Regions from separate parts of the Homo sapiens genome. Here all the other regions are linked to region 3. The links are contacts of gene promoters, found by promoter capture Hi-C in human tissues and cell types (Jung and others, 2019). All regions are on one chromosome and are shown on one strand. Each heading gives the region's core, a stretch centred on a gene start or on the middle of the fragment in contact. The rest is flanking DNA. Distances are from core to core; before and after follow the strand shown. Region 1 overlaps KNL1 (kinetochore scaffold 1). Region 2 overlaps RAD51 (RAD51 recombinase). Region 3 holds the start of CHST14 (carbohydrate sulfotransferase 14).

Region 1 (4,201 bases), core at 1,353-3,852, 180 kb after region 3:
ATCCTTAAACACCTTAAACTGTGAATACAGCCTGGGCAACAGAGTGAGGCACTATCTCTACAAAAAACAAGAGATTAGCTCAGCGTGATGGCACATACCTGTAGTCCTAGCTACTTGGGAGGCTGAGGCAGGAAGATCTCTTGAGCCCAGGAGGTCAAGACTACAGTGAGGCAAGATCACACCACTGCACTCCAGCCTGTGCAACAGAGCAAACTAAATAAATAAATTTAAATATATTCTCCGAGCTCAAAAATAAAATTCAAAAACTTGTTCTCTCTTATGATGTTTCTCATCTTTATGTATAGCAGTCACAATTCTTATACATTGTAAAAGCTCAATACTTTCATTGTCTTTGAGGCTCTCTTAACAAGTCCTGTCATCGGCAGCTTCAGCATCTCATGTGTTTATTTTCCTTTCCTATTAAGGCTCACCTTAATTCTGAACTGTGCTATTTCAGTCTTCTAACTAATCTTTATACATTCTTACCATTATTCCACCTTCTTCCATTCCAACCTGCACATTGCTGCCAGATTAATAATTATGAAAGACAGTTTTCATTAATGTTACTCCTCTGAAAAACTTCTGTCTTTCCATTTATTATAAAGTCCAAACTTAACTTTCTTTTTTTTTTTTTTTTTTGAGATGGTATTTCACTGTCGTTACCCAGGCTGGAGTCAATGGCACAATCTCTGCTCACTGCAACCTCCGCCTCCCAGATTCAAGCGATTTTCCTGCCTGAGCTTCCCGAGTAGCTGGGATTACAGGCATGCACCACCAGGCCCTGCTAATTTTTTTTTTTTTGTATTTTTAGTAGAGACGGGGTTTCTCCATGTTGGTCAGGCTGATCTCGAACTCCCGACCTCAGGTGATCCGCCCGCCTCGGCCTCCCAAAGTGCTGGGATTACGGGTGTGAGCCACTGCGCCTGGCCCAAACTTAACTTTCTCTGTGGTTGGCTTAAAGAAAAAAAAAAAGTCCAAACTTCTGAGCTTGACATTTCATATCTTCTACAGTTGTTTTCAGATTTACATGATTTGTTACTACTCCCATACACCTCTTAAATTCTAACCAAACATTGCTATTTTTATGCAGTTCTGCCACTTTTTTGAGACAGAATCTCTCTCTGTCACCCAGGCTGGAGTGCAGTGGCATGATCTCTGCTCACTGCAACCTCTGCCTCCTGGATTCAAGCAATTCTTGTGCCTCAGCCTCCCAAGTAGCTGGGATTACAGGCATGCACCACCACCCCCAGCTAATTTTTGTATTTTTAGTAGAGATGGTGTTTCACCATCTTGGCCAGGCTGGTCTCAACTCCTGGCCTCAAGTGATCTGCCCATCTCAGCCTCCCAAAGTGCTAGGATTACAGGCATCAGCCACTACGCCTGCCTTTTTCTTTTATTTAAAAAAAAAAAAAGAGAGGCAGAGTCTCACTCTGTTGCCCAGGCTGGGGTGCAGTGGCATGATCATAGCTCACTGCAGCTTCAAACTCCTGGGCTCAAGGAATCCTCCTTCCTCAGCCTCCTGAGTAGTTGGGACTATAGGCACATGCCACTAGCCTGATCATTTCTACTTTGGTCTTTGCTACTACATACTACGTTCTCTTTCTGTTTTTCACCAAAGAAAGTAGTCTCTTTTCCTTGAGCTCTCATGGCTCTTTTGTTAGTACTTCTTATATTACCCATCACATCTACTTGTATTATAGTTATTTTGTATAGTTTATCTTCCTGATTAAATTATAAGCTCTGTGGAGGCAGGAATCAGCTCTTCTTTTTCTCCATCTCCTTCAGAGTCCCTAGGACTATATTTCATACAGAGTAAGTGCCTAGTACATGTTTTTTGCACTGAATTGACCATGAGTACATGAATTCCATAGTCTAAAGTTCACCCCTTTGTTGACTACCTTACTTTCTCTTTCACAGAAAAAAAAAAAAAAATAGAAACCATCAGACTAGAACTTCTGAACTTCCTACTACCAAAGAAACAATCTGTCGTTTAATAAATTGTTTTTGATTGAATTATTCTTTTTTTCCTTACTTTGTTTTCTTTTTTTACTATTTTTCACTGAATTATTCTAACAAATACTGTCTACTTTAGAAACTAAGAATTTGGAGGATGAAGAGAAAAACAATCCTGTGGAAGAATGGGATTCTGAAATGAGAGCTGCAGAAAAAGGTAATTGAATTAGTTAAGGAGATAAATGGGTGTGGGGGAAGCCCTTCTGTTCTGAGTTTGTTTATATACTTTGGTGAGATTAAGTCAGAATTTTCAATAAAACAGATTTTTGTGGCAACATTCTAATATGTTTGTTCTGTTTTTTTTTTTTTTCTGTTTCCAAAGAATTGGAACAGCTGAAAACTGAAGAAGAGGAGCTTCAAAGGTCAGCCTTCAATCCAAGTGTTAGAAAATATAATGCTAAATCACAGAAGGCTAGATGACTTCCTGCCTCCAGAGACTGACAGGATTTGGGGACATGAGTCTTGATTGAGGCTGACTCAGGGCTTCTCCACTTTGAATGGAAACCTAGAGTCCATCTTAGTCAACAGTAGTTTTGAAGCACTTATTGTTTACAGGGCATTTATCCACAACAGTGTTTCTCAAGCTTGAATACTACCAGTATCCTTTTTGTTTAATAAATGTAAATATAAACAAGTATAAAATGAAGTATATATTTCTTAGGCCTATGAATCTTATTCAACTGTAAGTGTAAAAGAAAGTAAATAGAAATAATGACAAAGCCACTAAAATTCTAGTTGACAACATTAATTTGACAGGTGATAGTGTTTGGCTGAAATTAAATTGATGCTAGCAAAATGATTAACAAAGATATGTTCTGTTTAGCTCTAACAACTAAACGAAACCAAATACAGGCAAAAAAAAAAAAACTGTGACATGTCTCAGTTTTAAAGTATATCTTATGATCTACATTATGCTTATATTTTTATATTTTTGCTTTTTATCAAAAATAAAAATGTAGTATTTAAAAGTTATCTTAACATGTGAATCCCAAGGATATCTTCATGGATCCTAATTTGAAAAACAATGATTTATGCCTTTCCCAGGTAGACCCACTTCTAGATTAATGCTTATATAAAAAAAAAAAAAAAAACTAAACTAAGAATGCAGAAATGGATGCCATACACCTAACATTATTACCTCAATGGGGAGTCATGTAGCATGTGACTTCTTATCATAAACCTTTTATATTGATAGAGTGAATTCTCTAACAAAAACCTTATCTCTCTGAATACCTGCTTTTATTTGCAGAAATCTCTTAGAACTGGAGGTACAAAAAGAGCAGACCCTTGCTCAAATAGACTTTATGCAAAAACAAAGAAATAGAACTGAAGAGCTACTGGATCAGTTGAGGTAAGGAAATGCAGGCATCATTTGTTTGTGTTTTATTCTGTACCTTGTGGTTGTTTAAACCGATTGGAGCAATTGATGTATTTTTAATGTGTTGCTGTTTTTAACCTATACAGTGCTGTTTCAAAAAGAGTCAGTGTACTCAACAGTAAGCTGGAAATAGAGTAGAAGAACTATGGAATTATAATTTTTCCATATTTTATACTTTTCATTGCGTAGACTTGGTGTTTCTCTGATATACAACTCAAGATTGGGTTCTTAGTTATTTCAAAAGCTTAAGTTTGTACATCCACAATATATGAATTGAAATATTTTCTCCCAGTCCAGTGGAAAAACATTAGCAGCTGCTGTTGGTACTGTTTGGGTGGTATCAGAAGTTCTCTTTTATGTTAATTTTAAAAACGCTTTTTAAAAATCTTGTTTATCTCTCTACAGCTTGTCTGAGTGGGATGTCGTTGAGTGGAGTGATGATCAAGCTGTATTCACCTTTGTTTATGACACGATACAACTCACCATCACCTTTGAAGAGTCAGTTGGTAAGGAGCCAAAGTGAGATAATTCTTTTACAGAAAAATGAATGGCTACACTCACTAAAGATTCAAATCTTTATTTTACTATACTGATAACTATTGGCATGATGAGAGCACTGCTGAAAGTCTTAGAACAGTCACTTTATTGATAGCAGAATTTTATTTTATTTTGTAAAGAATAAAATAAAAATGGAATTAGTGAACGTTGCCCTTTGTTGAATTACATTAAATAAAAATTTTGCTCTGCAAATAATGGATAAACATGCTACTCATGTCTATTTACTATGAGTTTCTTTCTTTTCATCTCCAT
Region 2 (4,796 bases), core at 1,743-4,242, 230 kb after region 3:
CCACTGTGCCCACCTTTTTTTTTTTTTTTTAAAGAAAAAAAAGAAAAGTCTCACTCTGTTGCCCAGGCTGGAGTGCAGTGGCATGATCAAAGCTCACTGCAGCTTCAGCTTCAAACTCCTGGGCTCAAGGAATTCTCAGCCTGCTGAGTAGCTGGGACTATAGGCACATGCCACTAGCCTGACCATTTCTACCAGTTTTGTCTTTGCTAATACATTCTCCTGTTTTTCACCAAAGGAAGTAGTCTATATTCCTTGAGCTCCCATGGCTTGTTAGTACTTCTCATATTACCCATCACATCTACTTGTACTATAGTTATTTTGTATAGTTTATCTTTCTGATTAAGTTATAAGCTCTGTGGAGGCAGGAATCAGCTCTTCTTTTTCTCCATATCCTTCAGAGTCCCTGGGACTATGTTTCATACGAAGTAAGTGTCTAGTACATGTTTGTTGCACTGAAATGACAGTGAGTATATGAATTGGCCAGGCTGGTCTCAAAATCCTGGCCTCAGGTAATCCGCCCATCTCAGTATCCCAAAGTGCTGGGATTACAGGCGTGAGCCACTGCACCTGGCCGTGCAATGAATTTTTAAATGAAATATTAAGTATATAGAAAAGTTTAGAGAATAAACTTTCATTGATTTTTCAGCTATTTGTTGATTTTTTTTCTTCATGGGAAATTTAAACATTATGAAAGTTTAATCTTTTTACTTTCTATGGGTCTATTTAGATTTTCTTCTTGAGTGAGTTTTGGTAGTTTATCTTTCTAAGAATTTGCTTATTTCATCTAAGTTACCTAACTTGTTGACATAGAGATGCTCACAGGGTTTCCTTATACTACTTTTTATTTACATAAAGTCAGTAGTAATGTCCCCTCTTTCATTCTTGATTTTAGTAATTTGAGTCTTTTCTCTTTTTTTCTCGGGCAATGCAGCTAAAAGTTTGTCAATTTTGTTGATATTTTCAAAGAACCAGCTTTTGGTTTCATTGATTTTTCTCTATTATTCTGCCCTCTACTTAATAGTTTCTACCCTAACCTGTATTATTTCCATCTTTCTGCTTGCTTTGTTTTGTTTGCTTTTCTTTGGAAGGTTAGGTTATGATTTATCTTTTTTATTTTTAGAGGCAGAGTCTTGTTCTGTCACTTACGTTGGAGTGCAGTGGTGTGATCATAGCTCACTGCAGCCTCCAACTCCTGGCTCAAACAAACCTTCTGCCTCAGCCTCCCAGGTAACTAGGACCACAGGCACGCCCCACCATGCCCTGCTATTTATTTTATTTTATTTTATTTTTGAGACGGAGTCTCCCTCTGTGCCCAGGCTGGAGTGCAGTGGCGTGATCTCTGCTCACTGCAACCTCTGCCTCTTGGGTTCAAGCGATTCTCCTGCCTCAGCCTCCTGAGTGGCTGGGATTACAGGCACGTGCCGCCATGCCCAGCTAATTTTTAGTAGAGACAGGGTTTCACCGTGTTAGCCAGGATGGTCTTGATCTCCTGACCTCATGATCTGCCTGCCTCAGCCTCCCAAAGTGCTGGGATTACAGTCGTGAGCCACCGCGCCAGGCCTTTTTTTTTTTTTTTTCTGATGCAGTCTCACTCTCTTGCCCAGGCTGGAGTGCGGTGGTGTGATCTCGGCTCACTGCAACCTCCGCCGCCCGGGTTCAAGCAGTTCTCCTGTTTCAGCCTCCTGAGTAGTTGGGACTACAGGCGCACGCCACCACGCCCAGCTATTTTTTGTATTTTTAGTAGAAATGGGGTTTCACCATATTGGGCAGGCTGGTCTTGAACTCCTGACTTCGTGATCTGCCCACCTCACCCTACCAAAGTGCTGGGATTCAGGCATGAGCCACCATGCCCAGCCATGCCCTACTAATTTTTTTTTTTTTTTTTGAGATGGAATCTCGCTGTGTCTCTCAGGCTGGAGTGCAGTGGTGCAAATTCAGCTCACTGCAACCTCCGCCTCCCAGATTCAAGTGATTCTTCCACCTCAGCCTCCCGAGTAGCTGGGACTACAGGCGCGTGCCACCACGCCCGGCTAATTTTTGTATTTTTAGTAGAGAGGAAGTTTCACCATGTTGGTCAGGCTGGTCTTGAACTCCTGACCTTGTGATCTGCCCACCTCAGCCTCCCAAAGTTCTGAGATTACAGAGGTGAGCCACCACACCCAGCCACCCTGCTAATTTTAAAACATTTTTAGAGCCAGGGTGCTGCTTTGTTACTCAGGCTGGTCTCAAACTCCTGGCTTCCAGCAGTCCTCCCACCTCAGCCTCCCAAAGTGCTGGGATTACAGGTGTGATTCACCACACCCAGCCTTCTTTTCTAATATAGCTGTTTATAGCTATGAATTTCTCTCTAAGCACTGCTTTTCTTGGAGCCCATACGTTTTGGTATATCTTCGTTTTCATTCATTGCAAAAACATTTTCTGATTTCCCTTGTCATTTCTTCTTTGACTTGTTGCTTATTTAGGAGTGTGTTGCTTTATTTTTGCATATTTGTGAATGCACTTACTTTTCAATTTTAGAATCAACCCATAGTGCTATTACAGAACACTTATCTGTAATTACAAAATAGAATGTGAATGTTCTCAGCCAGACAATATGAAAGAAAAGGTACAGCTGATAGAGGTGGGGAAGTAGCCATGGAGAGAGAAAAGATTGAAGGGCAAATGTCCTCATTTTTACAAAGTAGGAAGTTAAGGGATACAGTCTGCGGTTGATGGAGCAGGAAATGAAGGTGTACTGTATTGTCATTTTTGTCATAAATTGGGCAAAACACATATGTACGGATCTCTAATAGTTTTTTGTTTTGTTTTGTTTTGTTTTTTGAGACAGAGTCTCGCTCTGTCCCCCAGGCTGGAGTACAGTGGCGCGATCTCGGCTCACTGCAAGCTCCGCCTCCCGGGTTCACGCCTTTCTCCTGCCTCAGCCTACCAAGTAGCTGGGACTTCAGGCACCCGCCACCACGCCCGACTAATTTTTTGTATTTTTTTAGTAGAGATGGGGTTTCACCATGTTAGCCAGGATGGTCTCGATCTCCTGACGTTGTGATCCGCCTGCCTTGGCCTTCCAAAGTGCTGGGATTACAGGCGTGAGCCATCGCACCCGGCCGGATCTATAATAGTTTTTAAAACTATATTAATATATTAACTTGAATTGGCAATTTAAAAATTGATCTTCATGGAATCTCTGAATTAGATTATCCTTTTTTATGACTTTCTAAAGAGAAATCATCCTGGTAATTTTATTTGATATTTTCTCTTCCCATTGCACACCTTGTTTTACTAATATTTCTTTTTTCTTTATATATATTTTTTTGCCATCAAGATCACTGTGGTAAGGAATATTATTTTGTTGATTTAATATTTCTTATTTTTCCCAGGCTGAGGCAGCTAAATTAGTTCCAATGGGTTTCACCACTGCAACTGAATTCCACCAAAGGCGGTCAGAGATCATACAGATTACTACTGGCTCCAAAGAGCTTGACAAACTACTTCAAGGTGTAGTAATCCTTTATCCTGTGTTGTGAACTCTAGTTAGGAAAGCTTCCAGGTTATAAAACAAAACTGAAATATTTGTGTAGCATTTCCTTGTTAGATAATGATAAAGAGATAGAGGAAGGCCAGGTGCAGTGGCTTATGCCTGTAATCTCAGCACTTTGGGAGGCTGAGGTGGGCAGATCACCTGAGGCTGGGAGTTCGAGACCAGCCCAGCCAACATGGAGAAACCTATTAAAAATACAAAATTAGTTGGGCATGGTGGCACATGCCTGTAATCCCTGTAGGTGCACATGCCTACTCGGGAGGCAGAGGCAGGAGAATCACTTGAACCCGGAAGACGGAGGTTGCTGTGAGCCAAGATTGTGCCACTGCACTCCAGCCTGGGTGACGAGCAAAACTCTGTCTCAAAAACAAAGAGAGATAAAGGAAGTATCCACATTGAAGAGGTAAGACTGCTGCAAGGTAGGACCTTATTTATAAAATACTAAACTTATCTGCAAATTAAATAATTTAGTCTCCATTTAATATTGTGTTAAGAGAGTAAGCTCCTTTTGCTTAAGGAGGTAACTGTAATTATAACCTACTCTACCACAGGGTTGAAAACCTGATGACTGGTTAAAACATTCCATGTTTGAATACTACTCATTGTGTACACACTAATCTTCAGGACTTCAGGGAAAACTATAAAGCTTTTGACCTTATTATTTATTTTTCGAGACAGGGTCTCACTCTGTCACCCAGGCTGGAGTGCAGTGGCATGGTCTCAGCTCACTGCAACCTCTGCTTCCTGGGCTCAAGTGATCTTCTAGCCTCAGTCTCCCCAAGCTAGGACTATGATCATTTACCACCTGGCTAATTTTTTTTTTTTTTTTTTTTTTTTTTGAGTCGGGGCATCACTCATTATGTTGCCCAGGCTGGTCTCAAAATCCTGAGCTCAAGCCATCCTCCTGCCTCAGCCTCCCAAAGTGCTGGGATTATAGGCTTGAGCCACCTTGCCTGGCCCAATGTCAGTTTTCTTTCCCTTTTTTTTGAGACAGAGTCTCACTCTGTTACCCAGGCTGGAGTGCAGTGGCATAATCTCAGCTCACTGCAACCTCCGCCTCCTGGGTTCAAGTGATTCTCCTGCCTCAGCCTCCCAAGTAGCTGGGACTACAGGCAAGTGCCACCATGCCCAGCTAATTTTTGTATTTTTAGTAGAGATGAGGTTTCACCACGTTGGCTAGGTTGGTCTCGAACTCCTGACCTCAGATGATCTACCCGCCTCAGCCTCCCAAAGTGCTGGGCTTACAGGCGTGAGCCATCAT
Region 3 (4,400 bases), core at 871-3,370:
GTAACTGGCCAGCACTGTCCTAGGGCCTCAGTGTCTTGCAGCTGGTGCTTCTTGCTTGCTGAGGAAGGCCACATCATGGGGCCAAGGGTCTGCGGCCAGCTGACCCCTGCTTCAGCCCAGCCCTGGTCCCAGCCTGGAAGCCTCAGTGTTGACCATGTTCCAGGTGGGGCAGCTCTAAGGCCATAGAGGTTCCTGGGAGCCACAGCACCCCCCCGCCCCGCCTCCACTTCTGCATTTTGCTAAGGCATGGTGCATGTGGGCAGGAACATTTTTTCAGAATTTATTGGTGGCACAGACACCACCATGGATTTTTCTAGCTCTGCCTTCAGTGTGGTGTCCACAAGACTCCCTTGAGGCGAGTGGTAGCTTGTCCTTATCTTACAGACAAGAAATTGGTATGGAGATAAGTACCAGGCCCAAGGACTCCCCCTGCCTCACCCTGACTGCTAACACAGAAAACTACCCTGTAACACAGAAGGGAGCACATGTGGCCACATTATCAAAAGATTTTTAAAGGTCTAAGGCCTTTTTTTCCTCTCCTGGTTTAAAGGACATACTTACTGGAAAATATGATTTTAATAGAAAATCCTATCACCAGAAATGTATACCTTTAGGATTATTGGAAGCAAGGAGCAGTGTAGACAAGGCAGAACCTTCACGCAAACTTCTGGTGCAGCAAATGGACAGGTGGTAGCCTGCAGATGCACTGGGGCAATCAGATGTGGAGAGCCTGCCCTGGAGAGCTGGAAGGCTGCAAGGCTTTACCGTTCCTTCCCCTGGCTCATCTGTGTGCTTTTCCTGTTGCTGGGATTGTGGGGTCATCAGTGAGCCCTCTAGTATCACCTCATCCCTCAAGTCCCCTCACCCTTCTGAATTCATCTGATCACTGGTAGCTCCATTCTCCCACTGGTATCTTCTATTTTCCATCACCTGCTCTGTACAGTCCGCCCTCGAGTCAGCTGCTTCCTCCCTTCTAGCCATTCCATGATATGCTCCTTTAATCTCTGAAGGGCCGTGATTAGAAATTTAGGTTTTAGACTCAGAACCACCCATACTGAGTCACATCTTCCCTGAGCCTCTGTTACTTCAGCTGTACAAAGGGAATGTCCACACTAGCTCCCTGCCAGGGTGGCTGTAACAACTAAAGGAGATAATGAATATAAAACACTTAGTGGGCGCTGTCCTCAGTACACTTGGGCTCTAATCATATTCCTCTGCTGCTTCAGAGGCTTGCTGGCTCTCTGCAGGCAGCAAGCACATAGCTGGACCAAGTCTGGCTACTGAGCCAGGTTCCCAGTGGGAAATGGTGGTTGCTGACATCCAAAGCACTTCGGGTCTGCTGTCCGCCCAAGTGACCAGCCTGGTGCCATGGAGCACACATCTAGCTCCAGGCAAGGAGACTACGTGCTGTTTCCCTGCTGTTTTGTGCCCCCAGCTCCTCACCCTTCCAAATGTGTGTTGGCCACACCAGCAGCTGATGGACCAATGTGTCAGACCCTCCCCAGAGTGCCCAGTTATCCCACTGCCTCATGAGGAGAAGGCAGAGGAGGGGAGACTCCATTTCCAGACATTTCAGCATTACCCAGTGGACAAGCACTGTAGTCAGTCCCCAGGTATTGCTAAACACAAGGGTCACCATGGAGACTGGTCAGTGTCTGACAGTTCTGCTTCTCCTTCCTGGAGTGGCCACGACCTGCAGGACGGAGGGAGTTAAGGGTGGCAAGGGGGAGCACACCGAGGGCTCCGCTTCCAGCTGGAAAGACCAGCCTCCGGCACGTCTGGACTCGGAGAGAGCGCTGCCCGCCTCCCTGCCTCCAGACCCGTTGCTGGAGGAAGGGCTAGGACAGGCCTGAGTTTGTGGCGAATCCCCCTTGTCCACTTCCCTGAGGACACACGCTGCAGGAGAGCAGCCTCGAGTCTTTTCTGCCTTCGAGGTCTCAGGAGCTTTTGTCCCCAAGCCCAGAGGACAGGGGTGGCCCTGACTCAGGCGCCCTCTTCCGGGTAGGGGTCCGCGTGCGCCCTCCCAAGCCCGCGCCCCGCAGGGGCGCCCGCCCCTCTCCCCGCCCCCGGCGTGGGCCCGCCCCCGCGCCTGTGTCACTGCGAGGCCGGGGGTGGAGAGCGGCCGGGCGGGACATCCGGCCCGGGTCCCTCGCCGCGCCCGCCGCCCGCCGCCCGCTTCGGCGCCGCAGCCCGGGAGCCGGCCACCCCTACACGCGCCAGGGCTGTCCCCTGCCCTCCCCTCCCCAACTACCCCCGGTCCCAGACCCTCCTCCCGCCCCCAGCCCGAGCCCGCCTTCCAGGCCGCCCTCGGATCGGCCGGGCCCGCGCAGGCCCCCACCCCTTGAGCACCATGTTCCCCCGCCCGCTGACCCCGCTGGCGGCCCCAAATGGCGCCGAGCCCCTGGGCCGGGCGCTGAGGCGGGCCCCTCTGGGCAGGGCCCGGGCGGGGCTGGGTGGGCCGCCCCTGCTGCTGCCGTCCATGCTGATGTTTGCGGTGATCGTGGCCTCCAGCGGGCTGCTGCTCATGATCGAGCGGGGCATCCTGGCCGAGATGAAGCCCCTGCCCCTGCACCCGCCCGGCCGCGAGGGCACAGCCTGGCGCGGGAAAGCCCCCAAGCCTGGGGGCCTGTCCCTCAGGGCTGGGGACGCGGACTTGCAAGTGCGGCAGGACGTCCGGAACAGGACCCTGCGGGCGGTGTGCGGACAGCCAGGCATGCCCCGGGACCCCTGGGACTTGCCGGTGGGGCAGCGGCGCACCCTGCTGCGCCACATCCTCGTAAGTGACCGTTACCGCTTCCTCTACTGCTACGTCCCCAAGGTGGCCTGCTCTAACTGGAAGCGGGTGATGAAGGTGCTGGCAGGCGTCCTGGACAGCGTGGACGTCCGCCTCAAGATGGACCACCGCAGTGACCTGGTGTTCCTGGCCGACCTGCGGCCTGAGGAGATTCGCTACCGCCTGCAGCACTACTTTAAGTTCCTGTTTGTGCGGGAGCCCTTGGAACGCCTCCTCTCTGCCTACCGCAACAAGTTTGGCGAGATCCGAGAGTACCAGCAACGCTATGGGGCTGAGATAGTGAGGCGGTACAGGGCTGGAGCGGGGCCCAGCCCTGCAGGCGACGATGTCACATTCCCCGAGTTCCTGAGATACCTGGTGGATGAGGACCCTGAGCGCATGAATGAGCATTGGATGCCCGTGTACCACCTGTGCCAGCCTTGTGCCGTGCACTATGACTTTGTGGGCTCCTATGAGAGGCTGGAGGCTGATGCAAATCAGGTGCTGGAGTGGGTACGGGCACCACCTCACGTCCGATTTCCAGCTCGCCAGGCCTGGTACCGGCCAGCCAGCCCCGAAAGCCTGCATTACCACTTGTGCAGTGCCCCCCGGGCCCTGCTGCAGGATGTGCTGCCTAAGTATATCCTGGACTTCTCCCTCTTTGCCTACCCACTGCCTAATGTCACCAAGGAGGCGTGTCAGCAGTGACCATGGGTGTGGGGCCAGCAGCTGGTGGGGACTGGTTTCAACGCCAGCTTTCTGTGCTTCTGCCTGTCATTCGGAGAAACTCTGGCTCTGGGGCTTGGGGCTTCTCAGGATCCTGGATGGCAGAGACTGCCCTCAGAAGTTCCTTGTCCAGGGTGGGCACCCACAGTGACTCAGAGGACAGGGCTAGGCAGGAGACCTGCTGCTCCTCATTGGGGGGATCTCTTGGGGGGCAGACACCAGTTTGCCAATGAAGCAACACATCTGATCTAAAGACTGGCTCCAGACCCCGGGCTGCCAGGATTATGCAGTCCACTTGGTCTACCTTAATTTAACCTGTGGCCAAACTCAGAGATGGTACCAGCCAGGGGCAAGCATGACCAGAGCCAGGGACCCTGTGGCTCTGATCCCCCATTTATCCACCCCATGTGCCTCAGGACTAGAGTGAGCAATCATACCTTATAAATGACTTTTGTGCCTTTCTGCTCCAGTCTCAAAATTTCCTACACCTGCCAGTTCTTTACATTTTTCCAAGGAAAGGAAAACGGAAGCAGGGTTCTTGCCTGGTAGCTCCAGGACCCAGCTCTGCAGGCACCCAAAGACCCTCTGTGCCCAGCCTCTTCCTTGAGTTCTCGGAACCTCCTCCCTAATTCTCCCTTCCTTCCCCACAAGGCCTTTGAGGTTGTGACTGTGGCTGGTATATCTGGCTGCCATTTTTCTGATGCATTTATTTAAAATTTGTACTTTTTGATAGAACCCTTGTAAGGGCTTTGTTTTCCTAATAGCTGACTTTTTAATAAAGCAGTTTTATATATAAGGCGAGCATTTCTGTGATTTCCCTTGGAGCTCCTGTGGGCCCAGCAGATCTCCTCGATGTCTGTCTTCCCATGTCAGGGGAGGCAGCCTGTAGATAGAGAAAGTA

What was found. The method cuts DNA at HindIII sites, captures the fragments that hold promoters and counts their contacts. A contact is called where the count stands out against the background at its distance.
Region 1: a contact is called between a fragment that was not itself captured here and the fragment with the promoter of CHST14 in region 3, in 2 of the 25 tissues and cell types used here (lymphoblastoid cells and mesenchymal stem cells).
Region 2: a fragment that was not itself captured here is called in contact with the fragment with the promoter of CHST14 in region 3 in 2 of the 25 tissues and cell types used here (aorta and hippocampus).

What each region holds. Positions count from the first base shown.
Region 1 is chr15:40,648,209-40,652,409 of GRCh38, forward strand. It overlaps KNL1 (kinetochore scaffold 1), which reads left to right. Exons shown (of 26, transcript NM_144508.5): 18 at 2,093-2,170; 19 at 2,336-2,375; 20 at 3,263-3,364; 21 at 3,797-3,897. Among named protein-coding and RNA genes, the nearest start is that of RAD51-AS1, 45 kb to the right of the region's middle. The HindIII fragment of the contact is 4,275 bases long and covers 466-4,201 here.
Region 2 is chr15:40,702,803-40,707,598 of GRCh38, forward strand. RAD51 (RAD51 recombinase) reads left to right here. Exons shown (of 10, transcript NM_002875.5): 4 at 3,375-3,492. Among named protein-coding and RNA genes, the nearest start is that of RAD51, 10 kb to the left of the region's middle. The HindIII fragment of the contact is 4,221 bases long and covers 883-4,796 here.
Region 3 is chr15:40,468,864-40,473,263 of GRCh38, forward strand. It overlaps CHST14 (carbohydrate sulfotransferase 14), which reads left to right and starts at 2,121. Exons shown (of 1, transcript NM_130468.4): 1 at 2,121-4,295. The coding sequence starts at 2,351. The coding sequence ends at 3,481. RefSeq lists enhancers at 1,593-1,702, 2,985-3,888 and silencers at 1,993-2,232, 2,283-2,532. The HindIII fragment of the contact is 30,667 bases long and covers 1-4,400 here.